4 separate regions of the Homo sapiens genome follow, and all the other regions are linked to region 4. The links are contacts of gene promoters, found by promoter capture Hi-C in human tissues and cell types (Jung and others, 2019). All regions are on one chromosome and are shown on one strand. Each heading gives the region's core, a stretch centred on a gene start or on the middle of the fragment in contact. The rest is flanking DNA. Distances are from core to core; before and after follow the strand shown.

Region 1 (3,434 bases), core at 264-2,763, 120 kb after region 4:
CTTTCCTTGTTTGGAGTCACAATACCAATACACAAAACCAAAAGTGAGTGTTAAGCAGTGCAGACCATGGAATTGAGAAGTAGTAACATGGCTCACAACTCAACTTCTCCACTAGTGAAGGGTGAGGGTGTTAAAATATAGGATTTATTTAATGAGGAGGTTGGACATTAAAAGCAAGGGGAGGGAATATTCTTATCTTTTCCGGAAATAGGTAGTCAACTTCCCAGAACCAGAGTGCTGCTTCATTTTTGTCCTCCTATGCCTTCTTCCGGTTGTTTCATGAGGATTGGCAATGGTCACGGTGCTGCTGGGTGCTCATTCCATTTAGCATGGAAATGAGATTATAATGAGGCCTGAGGTCCTTTTGAAGTCCTTTGGTTGGCTATCTTGGCTTAAACCTGTCTCAGCTGGTCTGGTTACAAAGGAAACTTTTTTTTTAATCACAGGTGTTCTGTTTCTTAAAGATAAGCAGAGTTAAGGCAGGGTAGAAATTCAGCTATGTCATGTAGGCATTGCACTGGATAACAAATCTCCCCTTTTCTGTATATTCACTCCTCATTCTTGAATGGTGCTGAGGAGTAAAAGTCTGTCTTCTACAACTTTCTGAATCTGAAGTTGGGTGTTAATATTGTTACAGGAAAGGGGTCCCAGTCCAGACCCCAAGAGAGTGTTCTTGGATCTCGTGCAAGAAAGAATTCAAGGTGAGTCCACAGTGCAAGGCAAAAGCAAGTTTATTAAGAGAGGTAAAGTGGTGAAAATGTGTCCAGAATTGGTGGGTTCTTGGTCTCACTGACTTCAAGAATGAAGCCGCGGACACTTGCGGTGAGTGTTACAGTTCTTAAAGGCGGCGTGTCCAGAGTTTGTTCCTTCTGATGTTCGGATGTGTTCGGAGTTTCTTCCTTCTGGTGGGTTCGTGGTCTTGCTGGCTCAGGAGTGAAGCCACAGGCCTTCACGGTGAATGTCACAGCTCTTAAGGCCACACGTCTGGAGTTGTTCATTCCTCCTGGTGGGTTCGTGGTCTCGTTGGCTTCAGGAGTGAAGCTGCAGACCTTCGCAGGGAGTGTTACAGCTCATAAAGGCAGTGTGGACCCAAAGAGTGAGCAGTAGCAAGATTTGTTGCAAAGAGCGAAAGAACAAAGCTTCCACAGTGTGGAAGGGGACCCAAGCAGGTTGCCACTGCTGGCTTGGGCAGCCTGATTTTATTCTCTTATCTGGCCCCATCCACATCCTGCTGATTAGTCCATTTTACAGAGAGCCAATTGTTCTGTTTTACAGAGAGCTGATTGGTCCGTTTTGACAGGGTGCTGATTGGTGCGTTTACAATCCCTGAGCTAGACACAAAAGTTCTCCATGTCCCCACTAGATTAGCTAGATACAGAGTGTCGATTGGTATATTTACAAACCCTGAGCTAGACACAGAGTGCTGATTGGTACATTTACAAACCTTGAGCTAGACATAAAGATTCTCCAAGTCACCACCGGATTAGCTAGATACAGAGTGCCGATTGGTGCATCCACAAACCCTGAGCTAGACACAGGGTGCTGATTGGTGTGTTTACAAGCCTTGAGCTAGATACAGGGTGCTGATTGGTGTATTTACAATCCCTTAGCTAGACATAAAGGTTCTCTAAGTCCCCACTAGACTCAGGAGCCCAGCTGGCTTCACCCAGTGGATCTCCCACTGGGGCGGCAGGTGGAGCTGCCAGGAGTGCCCTGCACCTGCTCTCCGGGCGCCATCCAGCAGGGGGCGGCGCTCGTCAGGGAGGCTAGGGCAGTGCAGGAGCCCACGGCGTGTGGGGGGAGGGGTGCGGGGGGCTCAGGCATGGCAGGCTGCAGGTCCGGAGCGCTGCCTCACGGGGAGGCAGCTAAGGCCCGGGGAGAAATCGAGCGCAGCAGCTGCCCGCCCAGGTGCTAAGCCCCTTACTGCCCTGGGCTTGCAGCCGGCCGCTTCGAGTGTGGGGCCCTCCCAGCTCACACCCACGGAACTCGCGCTATCCCGCAAGCACCGCGCGCAGCCCCGGTTCCCGCCGGCGCCTCTCCCTCCACACCTCCCCACAAGCTGAGGGAGCTGGCTCCGGCCTTGGCCAGCCCAAAAAGGGGCTCCCACAGTGCAGCGGCGGGCTGAAGGGCTCCTCAAGCTCCGCCAGAGTGGGCGCCAAGGCTGAGGAGGCGCTGAGAGCAAGCGAGGGCTGCCAGGACTGCCAGCACGCTGTCACCTCTCAAAAGGACAGATACTCCATAGACAGACTAGGACGTTTCTGAAAGTAAGAGGAGGAACGTGTCCACTCTAGGTACAATGCTTGTATATATGGGAGATGTGCTCTGCTACAAGGGTTTGTGATGAAGGATTAATTTTCTTAATTACTATATTTTGCAAGAATCGGTATTATTATCTTTAACACAAAATTAGGAATGCCTTTGTTTGCCAGATATGGGGATATATGGACACTCCCAAATCTGGGTCTGTTTAGTAAACATTATTAGTTTGTTCCCTTAACATAAACATCTAGAGGCCAGGAATGCCTAAATTTCTGAGAATGCAGCCTTTCAAGGACCAGCCTCATTTTCCTAGCCCCCAGTCAAAATGGAGTCACTCTGGTTCGAACACTTTTGACAATATGGGGCCTGTTAGAGGAGTGAATTTTTTCCCTAGCTAGTCTTAGGTAGATCTGGTTCTCTCCTGGGTATAAGCCTACCTTTTTATATCCGTGTATGGCCTCGATTTGCTTATACATAAAAGAGATCAGAGAGTTTAGGAGACAGAGCCTGAAGATCAAGATAAGTAGGATGGTAGCTAAAGGGCTCAGGAAGGGTAGAAACCGGGTGAAATCAGGGCTGGCCTGTTTTATCATTTTCATATTCCTTGAGGGTCTGTGCCCTTTTGGTTAAATTGGTGCAACCACTTGGTCTGGTTGTAGATGATTTTAATGTCTTTTCGTTGTTTTTAATCTTGAATTACTTACCCAAGCACAACAGAAAGAGCTGGTGACCACACGTACCTCACCTTTTTTTGCCAAGAGATAATCAAAAGTCAGACGATTATCAAGCACAGTGTTAGTTAGTGAGTCTAGGGAGACTTTGAGGAGGGTAAGGGCATCACTAGTCTTATAGGCTAGAATTTCTATACCTGTTGTGAGGTTGCAGAGGGTAAACTCATGGTAGGCAAACCTTCCCTAGGGGCTATGAGACCACCTGCTATCCCAGTACCAGCCAGAATAAGCCTAATTGCCTTTTATTCCTCAGGTGAGAGGGGGACAGGAAACCATTAAACATTTTGACTTCTCTGGGGATTCGGTGCCCTAGGGCTCATTCTCCAGGATGTCATGTATTTTAAGGTTTCCTGTGGATCATTTTGAGCAGGAATCTTAGATCTGACAGCAATTCAGCTTGGTTAGTGGGACTTTTTTCCTTAGGTTCTGAGGCTGCTTTTACTC
Region 2 (3,727 bases), core at 825-3,324, 72 kb after region 4:
CATCTCTGTGGGTTGGCATTGAAACAAAACGCAACAGGATTATTTCTCTGTTCCCTCAAGGTCAATTGAAATGAGGACATCACACTGTTCTCATTGAGGCGCTGAGCATATTTTGTGTCTCCCATTTAAGATCAGTGATTGCAACTATAATCCAGCCCAATAGAGTCCTTAGAGTCAAAAGGACTGCAAGTAAGCACTTTGGTGGAGTTTCATGGACAACTTTGCTGTGCTTCTGCAACCTTCAGTCGATTTGGGACATGCTAGGATTAGAATCACTGAGGCACATCGGACTGAGTGGATTTTATGATGAGTACAGCTTGAATACTATAGTGAGAACATTAATCACTCTTCGTATGAGACTCCAATTTTCAGAAATGGAAGGTAGAAAATGAGGTTATTATGAGGATGAAGGAGACCTGCTTTTATTTTTTTCAGCAAGAGAAACTCATGCTGGATTTAAGGAAGAACTTCAATGCATGAGTAGTTGGATATTATTTACATTGAAAGAGAGCATCTCTTTGAAGGGAATATTTAAAATATATTTCAAAGTTATTTTTAAGAGATTCAGAATCTGTTTAGTAACACATGGGTCAACTGTTTTTTCTGCCTTTTTTTCCTTCATTTTTTCCTATGTTTAGTTCACAATGCTATGTTTTTCAACTTTGCTTGAAGTTTTATTTTGGCTTCTCGGGTTCATTTTTATTTGTTACAGAATTAAATCATAAATGATTATTTTATTTTAGCTTGTACGTTTTTTAAAGATTTGTTCTATAATTTTCTGACAGATTTCTCAGCCTCTCTATTAAGGAAACTAAGAGTATTAGCACTAATAAAGCAGAATTTTTTTGCTTATTCTGAACATCAAAATTTACTACTTTGTATAGAATGAGTAATGAACTTCTATTTGTTCTCTTTAGGGGTGAATAAAGGCATTTACTTTAGCTACCCATGTCGACGTCACAGCTGTGCCGTAGTAAATATTCCAGCACCTTGTGTCAACAAAATGATTTCACACATCCAAGATGTGGAGTCCAAAATACAGGAGCATTTGAAAAGGGTAAGAGACTAATTTAAAATGCTGATATTTTGGTAAGCTTTATCGACCCTCTAAGGATTGGTTATTTAAAGAACCCAGGAAACTCTGGACTTTTTAAATGATAATTGGAATGCTTTTTAAGAATCTTTGCTCAGTTGCATCATTTACTAGTCTAGACATGTTTTTGATAGTCTCACTCCAGAAGGGTGAAACGACCTTATTAAATCGATGTTTTTTTCCCTACCTGTTTGTTCTTTATCCAGAGGCAATCATGCTAAGTAGTAATTTCCATAAGCCAACTTCACTAGTAAATTAAGTAGTATTTACATACTTTTTGGGACACTAAACTGATTAGATGATTAAATTGGTGTATAAAAGGACAGTGTGCCCTTTTTAATGAGTTGTTTTATTCTAAAGAAATGCTTAATAGTTCTATTGAAAAGGAATATAATGATTCTATGTCTTTTTAACCTGTTAAAAGTTTGCCTTTATTATTCTGAAGGGAGTTCAATCTTGAAAGGCAATTATTTTCAAAGGATGATTTAAGAATGACAAAAAATACCACTTCTCATACCTTTTATTAAGATTATATTTCTGAACAACTAATGCAGAATTAGACTGCTCAAATGGGAGATCAATTTTCCAGAGACCTGTGCTATTTTTTTTTTCTCTCCACTGTTACTGGATCTGGCTCAGCAAACATTCTGATGGGCCACTTACAATTCTCAGTCTAGGATGTCACCTCTTTTGTTAGAGATCATTAGAGTACAGTCTTCAAGATTGCAGGCTTTAGAGTGACCTTAGATGGGAATGAAGAGATAGTGATACTATATTAGAACAAGTACCAGCAAATGATATGCACTCAATATATATTTGTCACTGTTACTTCTATATTATTTATATCATTCTATATCAGCATTGTGTTACCTTTGTTGTTTCTATATTTCTCCAAATCAGATTACCCCTTCAGGAAATGCTTTATAGGTCACAGGACTGATGGTGTCCTGGGCTTTGAAGACTATGGCAAGGAAATAAAGAGCAGAAATTAATATTTGTTGCTATGATATGCTATATACTTCCTATGAGTTTTAATTAACAATTACCCATGTTGTTAAAAATGATAAAAATCATAGGTATTTTAATAAATAATTATAACAACTACCACTTATTAAAATGGTATAATGGTATTTTAATAAATAATTAAAACAGGTATTTTAATAAATAATTATAACAGCTACCATTGATTAAAAAACTAATATAAGTCAGACATTATGTTTTACTACATCATTGCTCTTAGACCTTACAAAACTATTGAATGGTTATTGTTATACCTAATTGATAGATAGGGAAATAGTAGTTTAAAACAATTCAGCAACTTGTTCAAGCTCACAAGGCAGAATTGGGATTCACACACCCTCTGTCTGTTTTCAAAGCCCATATTCTTTCCTGAATCCGACTTGGTGCTCTGAACAGTTGATAAACTGTTAGATACTATGGATAATAGGGCAGGTAAAATATTACCTTAGATAAAATAGTTTACAAAATGAGCCAAGATATTTTATATCTTATCTTTAAAAAAACTGAAAAAAAGAGCTATTCTCATGTAAATATATTGAAAAACCTCAAAAAAGGAGAAGCACCAGAGCTGACTTCTTTACTCTTGTCTTCTGGGGCCTAGATTAGTGCCAGATAAATAGTAGGCACTCAATAACTGTCTGTTGAATAAAAAAGTAAATGAAGATCTAAAACAGAACCTTTCTATTCTGCATACATCTGAGGCACCTATCCACTCCATATGGTAATGGTGATTTATGTACCTAACCTCTCCTATTTTCTAGACATTTAATAAATATTTATTGTTTTGCCCTTTATAGAAATTCTACTGTACAGATGAGAATTCTAGGGCATAGAGAAGTCAAATACCTTATATGTACACATCACACAGGTAGTGAGCACTACAGTTGGAATTTGTACTTAGTTCCATCTGACTCCAAAGTCCATTCAACCTCTGTTTTATATCCTTGGAGAGAACTTAATTCTCATTTAGGAGAATATTAGTTGATACTTTGAGAAGAAACACACAATAACAATGATAGAAAAGTACACTTCTAGACAAAAATTTCAATAATGATAATTCTTTGTTTATGAATAAATAAATACGAGTTTTATCTGAAAGGAGATTCATTATGAAATAAATGCTAATGACAAACTTTCTGTTAATTTTCAAGGTTATTTTGTAGATTTTCTATTTTCTATATTTAAAAATTATCTTATTTTGTTTTATTATTGACTGTGCAGTTAGATTTGCTAGTGTTGAACTGGTAAATAGAACATAAGTACTATGTTTGGTGCAATGATGAGGACTCTCCATTAGATATTTAGTTCAAATCTATGCAGTATTTGAACTAATATTTTAAGAATGAACTGGTGGTCAGCTATCCTTTTGAAAGATGAAAAAATTTTTTCTGACTAACCTATCACAATAAGAAAAAAATCTTCCCATTATCACATGGAAAAAGTGATAATATTACCAAAAAATGTTGGTAATATTAGACAACCTTACATTGACATAGGAACTTAAATTTCCTCAAAAATAAAATTAAGCAGGCACAACTGGAAAGAACTCTTTGAAAGATAGCTTCTGATATTTTGAAATCAAAGCTAATAGCATCTAATATTTCCAAATAAGTA
Region 3 (3,704 bases), core at 888-3,387, 75 kb before region 4:
TTTTAATAGAGACAGGGTTTTACCATGTTGGCCAGGCTGGTTTTGAACTCCTGACCTCAAGTGATCTGCCCGCCTTGGCCTCCCAAAGTGCTAGGATTACAGACATGAGCCACCATGCCTGACCTCTAGCATTCTTTTGATTAGTGTTACCATGGTATATCTTTCTCCATCACTTTACCTTTAACCTAGATGCCTCTTTATGCTGAGACCAGTTCAGTCATGGAGACCCTAACCCAGCGGCACTAGAGAAATTAAAGACACACACACAGAAATATGCAGTGCAAAGTGGGAATCAGGGGGCTGACAGCCTTCAGAGCTGAGAGCCATGAACAGAGTTTTACCCACATATTTATTGACAGCAAGCCAGTGATAAGCATTGTTTTTATAGATTATAGATTAACTAAAACGGGAAACAAAGGGATGGGCTCAGGCTAGTTATCTGCCGCAGGAACATGTCCTTAAGGCACAGCTCATGCTGTTGTTTGTGGTTCAGGAACACCTTAAGTGGTTTTTCCGCCCTAGGTGGGCCAGGTGTTCCTTGCCCTCATTCTGGTAAACCAGCAACCTTCAGCCTGGGCATCATAGCCATCACAAGCCTGTCACAGTGCTGTAGAGATTTTGTTTATGGCCAGTTTTGGGGCCTGTCTATGGCCAGATTTGGGGGCCTGTTCCCAACATCTTTATATTAAGGCAGATTTTTGTAGACAACATATAGTTGGCCCTTGTCTTTCCTTCACTATTATGACAGTCTCTGTCTTTTAATTAGAATATTTAGGACACTCACATTTAAAGTTATCATTGGTATAGTTGGATTAATATATACCATGTTTGCAAGTATTTTATGTTAATTGCAGTTGTTCTTTGCTTATCTTCTCATTTTCTTCATTCTCTGGTTTTAATTGAATATTTTATATGATTCTATTTATTATCTTTCTTAGCATATCAATGAGCTGTGTTTAATGTTCGCTGTAGCTATGGGTGCCAGAGGGTTCAATTTCTCTAGTATCCTTATTTTTCTCCTTTCCTATTATCTTTGAATTTCCCTAAGAATCCCTTTTAAAACAGATTCTGTGTCTTGCAGCTCTTTTAGTTGCAATTCAATGTTCTTATACTTTTGCCTTATTGATGTTGTGGTAAGGTGAGGGGGAGAGGAAGCCTTTGATAATCTTTTGATTAAAATCAGTGTTTTAGTGGGCCTGCATCCCTGAGCTGTGACCTTTTAAATGCTTCTCAACGGCCTGGTGTGGTGGCTCACACCAGTAATCCCAGCACTTTGGGAGGCCGAGGAGGGCGGATCACAAGGTCAAGAGATGGAGACCATCCTGGCCAACATGGTGAAACCCCGTTTCTACTAATAATACAAAAATTAGCTGGGTGTGGTGGTGTGTACCTGTAGTTCCAGCTACTCAGGAGGCTGAGGCAGGAGAATCCCTTGAATCTGGGAAGGATAGGTTGCAGTGAGCTGAGATCACACCACTGCACTTCAGCCTGGTGACAGAGCAAGACTCAGGCTCAAAAAAAGAAAAAAAAGAAAAAAGAAAAAAAAACTTCTCAGCTTTGTTTATTCCTTCTCTGGGTGAGACAGGAAGGATAGATGGTGCTAGAGTTGGCTAATTGTCTTTTCCACAGGTCAGATAAGCTCTGATAAAGTCTTTTCCCTTGGAGAGTAGGTCTTTTCTTTATCAAGAATGCTCTGGATACTCACCATTGCCCCTGCCAGAATCAGGAGGGCATTTTTATTAGATCTTTTCTTTGAGAACCTGGCAGAGTTCCTAGAGTTAAAATCCATGAAATGATGGGGCCCCCAGGCATTTTCACTCTCAAGCTTGTCTACCTATCCTCAGCTTCCAGCAGTTGATGAAAATGGCCATTACATGTTTCTAGCAGATTATGGCTCCAACAGCTCTAGGTAAGCAGATCTCAGGTGCGCCTCTGTATTCACATCTCTTTCCTAATTTTAAGGTGGTGGTTTGCCCTGTGATTTCAATTATCTGATAAAGAAAGTCATTGATTTTTAGTATGTTCAGATTTTGTGTTGTTCTAAGCATTGATAACTTACAAGGTTTTTATATAGCACAGCTCTAGAATTTTAATTGCTTTATATTTTTAGTGCAAGTTTGTAGGCAACACATTCTGGCAGTTTCTGTCTGAAAAACCTGTTTATTTTACCTCCATCAAGGTACAGTGAAAAATGCTTGTACTGGTTAAAGAATTCTAGGTTAGCAGCTTTTCCTTTCATTTCTTTGATTGTGTCATTCCATTGTGTTCCATCTTTAGTCTCATTATTCCTCCATTGCAGGTAATGTAGTCTTTTCTCCTCTCTTGTTGCTTTTAGGATTTTTTTCTTTCTTATTGCTATTCATCAGTTTTACCACAACAAGCCTAGGGTAACCTTTGTTTATCCTTCTAGGGATTCCTAGATATTTTTAAAGATGTTCGGACATGTCAAATATTGCCTATGGTCCATTCTCTCTCTCTCTCTCTCATTCTCTCTCTCTCTTTTTCACTGACTCTTATTACACATTTTACAGGTCTTTTTTTGTACATTATTTTGGGTTTCCAGTAATCTGTACCTTAGTTTACTCATGCTGTCTCCTGCCATTTCTAATTTGCTGGTAATTTCCTGCCATTTCTAATTTGCTTAGTAACTTTCTAGTTTTAGACATTGTATTTTAAGTTCTAGAATCTCAGTTGTGTATTTTTTCTTGTATATTTTAATTCTCTGATGAAACTCAATATTGTCAATAAATTGTTCTCTATTTTTCTGAACATATCAATTATAATAATTTTAAAGTCTTTGTGTGCTAATTCAAATATGTGTATTATATTTGATTATTTTATTAAAATCTACTTATTTCCTGTTGGCTTTGGTCATGTCATCTCTTGGCATACCTAATAATATTTTATTGAATATTTCTGATGATATTATTATGCTTTGAGATTATTTCCCCCTTTTCATGCTAAGTAAATATCCTTTTGCATATGGATATCCAGTTTTCCCAGCACCATTTATCAAATAGATTGTCCTTTCCCCAATGTATATTCTTGGAACCTTTGCCAAAAATGAGTTCATTGTAGATATATGGATTTATTCCTGGGTTCTCTGTTCTGTTCCACTGATCTGTGTGTCTGTTTTTATGCCAGTATCATACCGTTTTGGTTACTATAGCTCTGTAGTATTAATTTAAAGTCAAGTAATGTGATTCCTCCTTTTTTTTGTTTTGCTTACATTAGATTGGGTTTTTCTGGGTCTTGTGTGGTTCCATATCGTTTTAGGATTTTTTTCTATTTCTGTGAAGAAATCTGCTGTAATCATTGGGTTTGGTTTGCTTTTGCTGTTCTAGTTCTTTAAGATGCATTGTTAGGTGGTTTATTCGAAGTTTTTCTTATTTTTTGATGTAAGCATTTATAGCAATAAATTTATAGCTATAGTACTATAGCTCTTAGTACTGATTTTGCTGTTTCCCTTATGTTTTGGTATGTTGTGTTTCCCTTATGATTTGTTTCAAAATATTTCTAAATTTTTCCATAATTTCTTTATTCTAATTTTTTTTTTTTTGAGACAGAGTCTTGCTCTGTTGCCCAGGCTGGAATGCAGTGGTGTGACCTCAGCTCACTGCAACCTCCACCTCCCAGGTTCAAGTGATTCTCTTGCCTCCGCCTCCTGAGTAGCTGGGACTACAGGCACGTGTCACCATGCCTGG
Region 4 (3,699 bases), core at 172-2,671:
GAAACTTGTCAATAATGAGATTTCTAGTAGGTAAAGTTTTATTTTATGAGAAAAAAATCTAGCTATTGTTTTAATATGCACATTTACATATTGTGAACCCTCATGAATACATATTTACTGGCATGCAAATGATTCATTTGGTTTATAATTTAACATTGTATTGAGAACAAGCCAAAGTTTAATAATTAATGGAGGGAGATGGGAAAGTGGAGTGCATTCTTGAATCCATTTTTTAATTACAAAAAGAGCTCTGCTTCTGCATATATTAATTTAAGATTAAGACCTTCCACCAGTTTGTTAGTTATTGCTTCCTTTTTTTCATCTTTGGCTGAAAGGACCACATTCCAGGTACGGACTTGCTGGTTTTCCCCTCTTAGAAAGGATTACTAATTAAATTGCCTCTTAAAGTAATAGACTTTGCTGATTTAACCTTGGCAGGCAATTGCCTGTTCTCAGTGTTGCCTGGAAAAATGATTTCTCTGGATGAGAATGCTAATCTTTATTCTGATTCTGTTTTTTTTTTTTAACCATCTTCAGTTTATAGTCCAGTGTTTGTTTTCATTGAAGAAGACGGTGACAATAGTGTAAGACACGACTGTCCTCTGAAGCCTATTTCAGTTCACAGTGTATATTCACAGATGAAGAAACAAAATGTAGGTAATACATTTTGTGCCACTGATTTATGTATTTATTGATCTGTCGCCCAGGCTGGAGTGCAGTGGCACGATCCCAGTTCACTGCAGCCTCTAACCACTGGGCTCAAGCAATCCTCCTGCCTCGGCCTCCCAAAGTCCTGGGACAGGACACGCCTGGCACAGGGTTGTGCCACCACACCCGGCCTGCCACTTAGTATTTTGTCAGAAGGATCAATGCTTCAAAAATTTGTTTTTGAAAGAAACAGACCCTTAGAGAAATGGCTTGAATTAGTCTTGAATTAGTCATTTTCCCCACTTTCAGACACTAGGAAAAGTTCTTTCTTCCTTAACAGTTTGTTGAGGTTTCTCAATACTGAAGTCACAACCAAACCACATGGGGTTATCGCATGGAGTCCTGGTTGTATCATCCCAAGTGGCAAGAAAGAAAGAGGTCCTGCGGTCCTCCCGAAGGTGGACGAAGTCTGTGATCCCCTCACGTTCTAACCTCACTGCTGTACGAAGGGGCGTTGACTCGTCTCCACTCCTTCCCTCTCCGGTAAAGAGGGAAAGGAGTTGGGTTGGCAAATCGGTTACAAGAGAAAGGGAAAGGCACTGGGAGAAGGCGGAGCGGGGGCGGCCTGGAGCGCTGATCGGGCGCCGAAACGCCGGGAGTCGGGGGCTAAGGGCTCGAGCCAGGAGGCCCCGGAGCAGCAGCCGCCCGCTCCTCACGCCGCCGCCGCCGCCCCCGCGGTTGCCTGGACACGGGATAACCGACTTGGGGCCTCGACCGCAGCAGAGCCGGAGGGGTGGGCAGGCGCGGGTCCGGGAGACGCGCGGGGAAACGCGCGGAGCCGGTGAGTCGGGGGCGCTTGTGCCTCGGCGCGGGCGCTTGTGCCTCGGCGCGGGGCGCTGCCGGGCGGCGCCCACTCCCCCTGGCCGCCCGCCTGCGCGACTCCCGCGGGAGAACCAAATGCAATTCCCTGGCCACCCTGAGGGAGTTAGAGTCGACTAGTTCTTCACCCCTTCCAGAGGCGGTGGGGAGTCCTTGCCCCGCGCGTTTGAAAACAATTCCCCAAATCCCCAGTCCCATAATTCCCCAGTCCCCCAGTCGTTTTGTCCCCCTGTTCTCCGTCCTCCAGTTTCCCAGTCCTCCAACCCCTGTCCCCAGTCCCCCAGTCCCCCAGTCCCCCAGTCCCCCAGTCCCCCAGTCCCCCAGTCCCCACTGCCGGGGGAAGGGAAGCAGAGTCTCCCTCCGCTGGCCGCCTAGAGGAACTTCGTCTTGTCTGTAACTGCGTCTCTAGCGTCTTATTCCTTTAAAATAATTATTTCAACTTTTATTTTGCTTATAAGGCCGCCTTGTGGTGGCTCATGTATTATTCCTTTGAACTGTTATTGATTTCTTTTCTTGATATTTAATTTTTTAAGTGTCTGCTCAATCAAGTCAAATACTGAACAACTTCCTGGCGGAGAGGCTGAGAATTTTATACTTGCTTGCTCGAAAGCACCCCAAATAAGATGATCCACGCCAACACCTCCCCTTTACAGGTGAGAAAAGTGATATTCAGAGCTGATTTGTGATTTGACAAAAGTCAGATCCAGCAATCTTCAAACTCAGGAATATAAGAATCTCCCGATTGCCAATTCAAAGCATTTTCTATTATTGTTTTCTTGACATTCATCCACTGCTCAATAAATATTTGTGAATTGACTTGGTAGCTTATCACTCCTATTTATCATTGGATAATCTGTTGTGTATTGATTGCTCTGGGCATCTTGACCCAAATACAGCATTCTTGACATCTCCCTCCTACCCTCAAAATATTGTTTCTTGGTCCTGCTGTAGTAATAGGTTTTAGAACACCACTTACCAAGTTTAAGAACTCAGAGACATGACTAGTTGTAAGACAAATCCAAGAATCCAGAGGATTTTCAGCTATTTATGTTCAATTGTTATTTAGACATTCGTACAGAAACTAGTGTATTTCTATCTTGAATATATAATACTTCTTACTTTACTGTTGCAGTCATAAAGTTTTATTATAAACTATATCTGTCTAATTTCCAGAACTATCGAAAATATGAGTTTGATTGTTAGTCTACCCACTATCCCTGGATGGGTTGGGATTGCTGCCAGAGCTTTTATCCACAACCCAGACTTCTCTCTCCTGCTCCCACCTCAGATTCAACACAACCTTAGACTCAACTAATTTGTTACCACATCCTCAGAATTTTTCTTCCTGTTCTATATTCCATAGCAGTGAACGGGATAATTGCATATATTCTTCTTTCTTTTATCTTTATAATATGGACTTCATTCTCACACTGGCTTATTCCACCAGTCTAGAACCATGATTTCCAAGAGCACTGGACTCATAAATTCCCAAACTTGCACCTATAAAGAAAATCTAGAAACACTCGATGAATTCTTCTTGACCTCAGTTGGTTCAATTTGCCTGTCCCAAGAGCATTTATGTTGGGGATAGGGTTACTACGATTGACAGCAATGTCAGACTATGTGGATGGAGTGGGAAAACAATTACACACAAAACAGGAGCCCTCTAGGAAAGACAATTTCTGGGGGAAAATCCATATTTGTCTACTCAGTTTATCTAGGCTTATGGGACTGAAGATTAATGAGGTTAATGAGAATATTGGCTGCTAAAATGCTAGATGGCAGATTACAGACAACATGGAAAGGAAGATGATGTATGGTGAATGAGCAGGGAAAAGCAGAAAGATTAAGCAACTGGAATATTTAAAGTAGACGAAGAATTTGTATTGAGGTAATGATATAGGGAGAGAATTGGACTGATTATTTTATAAGCATCTGGGTTATATACCTGGTGGAAAATTAGTACATCTACAAGCAGATGGTTGCATGTGTGTGAGCTCTAATGGCCATGGTAACTTCATGTCTGTTTTCTGCACAATAACACAAATTGTGTGTGTGTGTGTGTGTGTGTTTGCCGTGTGTGTGTGTGTGTGTGTATGCCGTATATGGCATTTTAAAATCGATGTTGAACTTTTAACTTCATTTATAATGCTGCTGAAATAGAAGAAGACC

Evidence for each region. Contacts are between HindIII fragments. The study calls those that stand out against the background at their distance.
Region 1: a fragment that was not itself captured here is called in contact with the fragment with the promoter of CCDC178 in region 4 in 2 of the 25 tissues and cell types used here (H1 embryonic stem cells and adrenal gland).
Region 2: a fragment that was not itself captured here is called in contact with the fragment with the promoter of CCDC178 in region 4 in 3 of the 25 tissues and cell types used here (H1 embryonic stem cells, lymphoblastoid cells and thymus).
Region 3: a contact is called between a fragment that was not itself captured here and the fragment with the promoter of CCDC178 in region 4, in 2 of the 25 tissues and cell types used here (aorta and lymphoblastoid cells).

What each region holds. Positions count from the first base shown.
Region 1 is chr18:33,314,834-33,318,267 of GRCh38, reverse strand. All of the region lies in intron 11 of CCDC178 (coiled-coil domain containing 178), which reads left to right. Among named protein-coding and RNA genes, the nearest start is that of CCDC178, 120 kb to the left of the region's middle. The HindIII fragment of the contact is 7,209 bases long and covers 1-3,434 here.
Region 2 is chr18:33,367,380-33,371,106 of GRCh38, reverse strand. It overlaps CCDC178 (coiled-coil domain containing 178), which reads left to right. Exons shown (of 23, transcript NM_001105528.4): 6 at 918-1,057. Among named protein-coding and RNA genes, the nearest start is that of CCDC178, 71 kb to the left of the region's middle. The HindIII fragment of the contact is 7,900 bases long and covers 1-3,727 here.
Region 3 is chr18:33,513,964-33,517,667 of GRCh38, reverse strand. No RefSeq gene overlaps it. Among named protein-coding and RNA genes, the nearest start is that of ASXL3, 62 kb to the left of the region's middle. The HindIII fragment of the contact is 9,416 bases long and covers 1-3,704 here.
Region 4 is chr18:33,438,443-33,442,141 of GRCh38, reverse strand. CCDC178 (coiled-coil domain containing 178) reads left to right here and starts at 1,421. Exons shown (of 23, transcript NM_001105528.4): 1 at 1,421-1,489; 2 at 2,061-2,180. The HindIII fragment of the contact is 6,939 bases long and covers 1-3,699 here.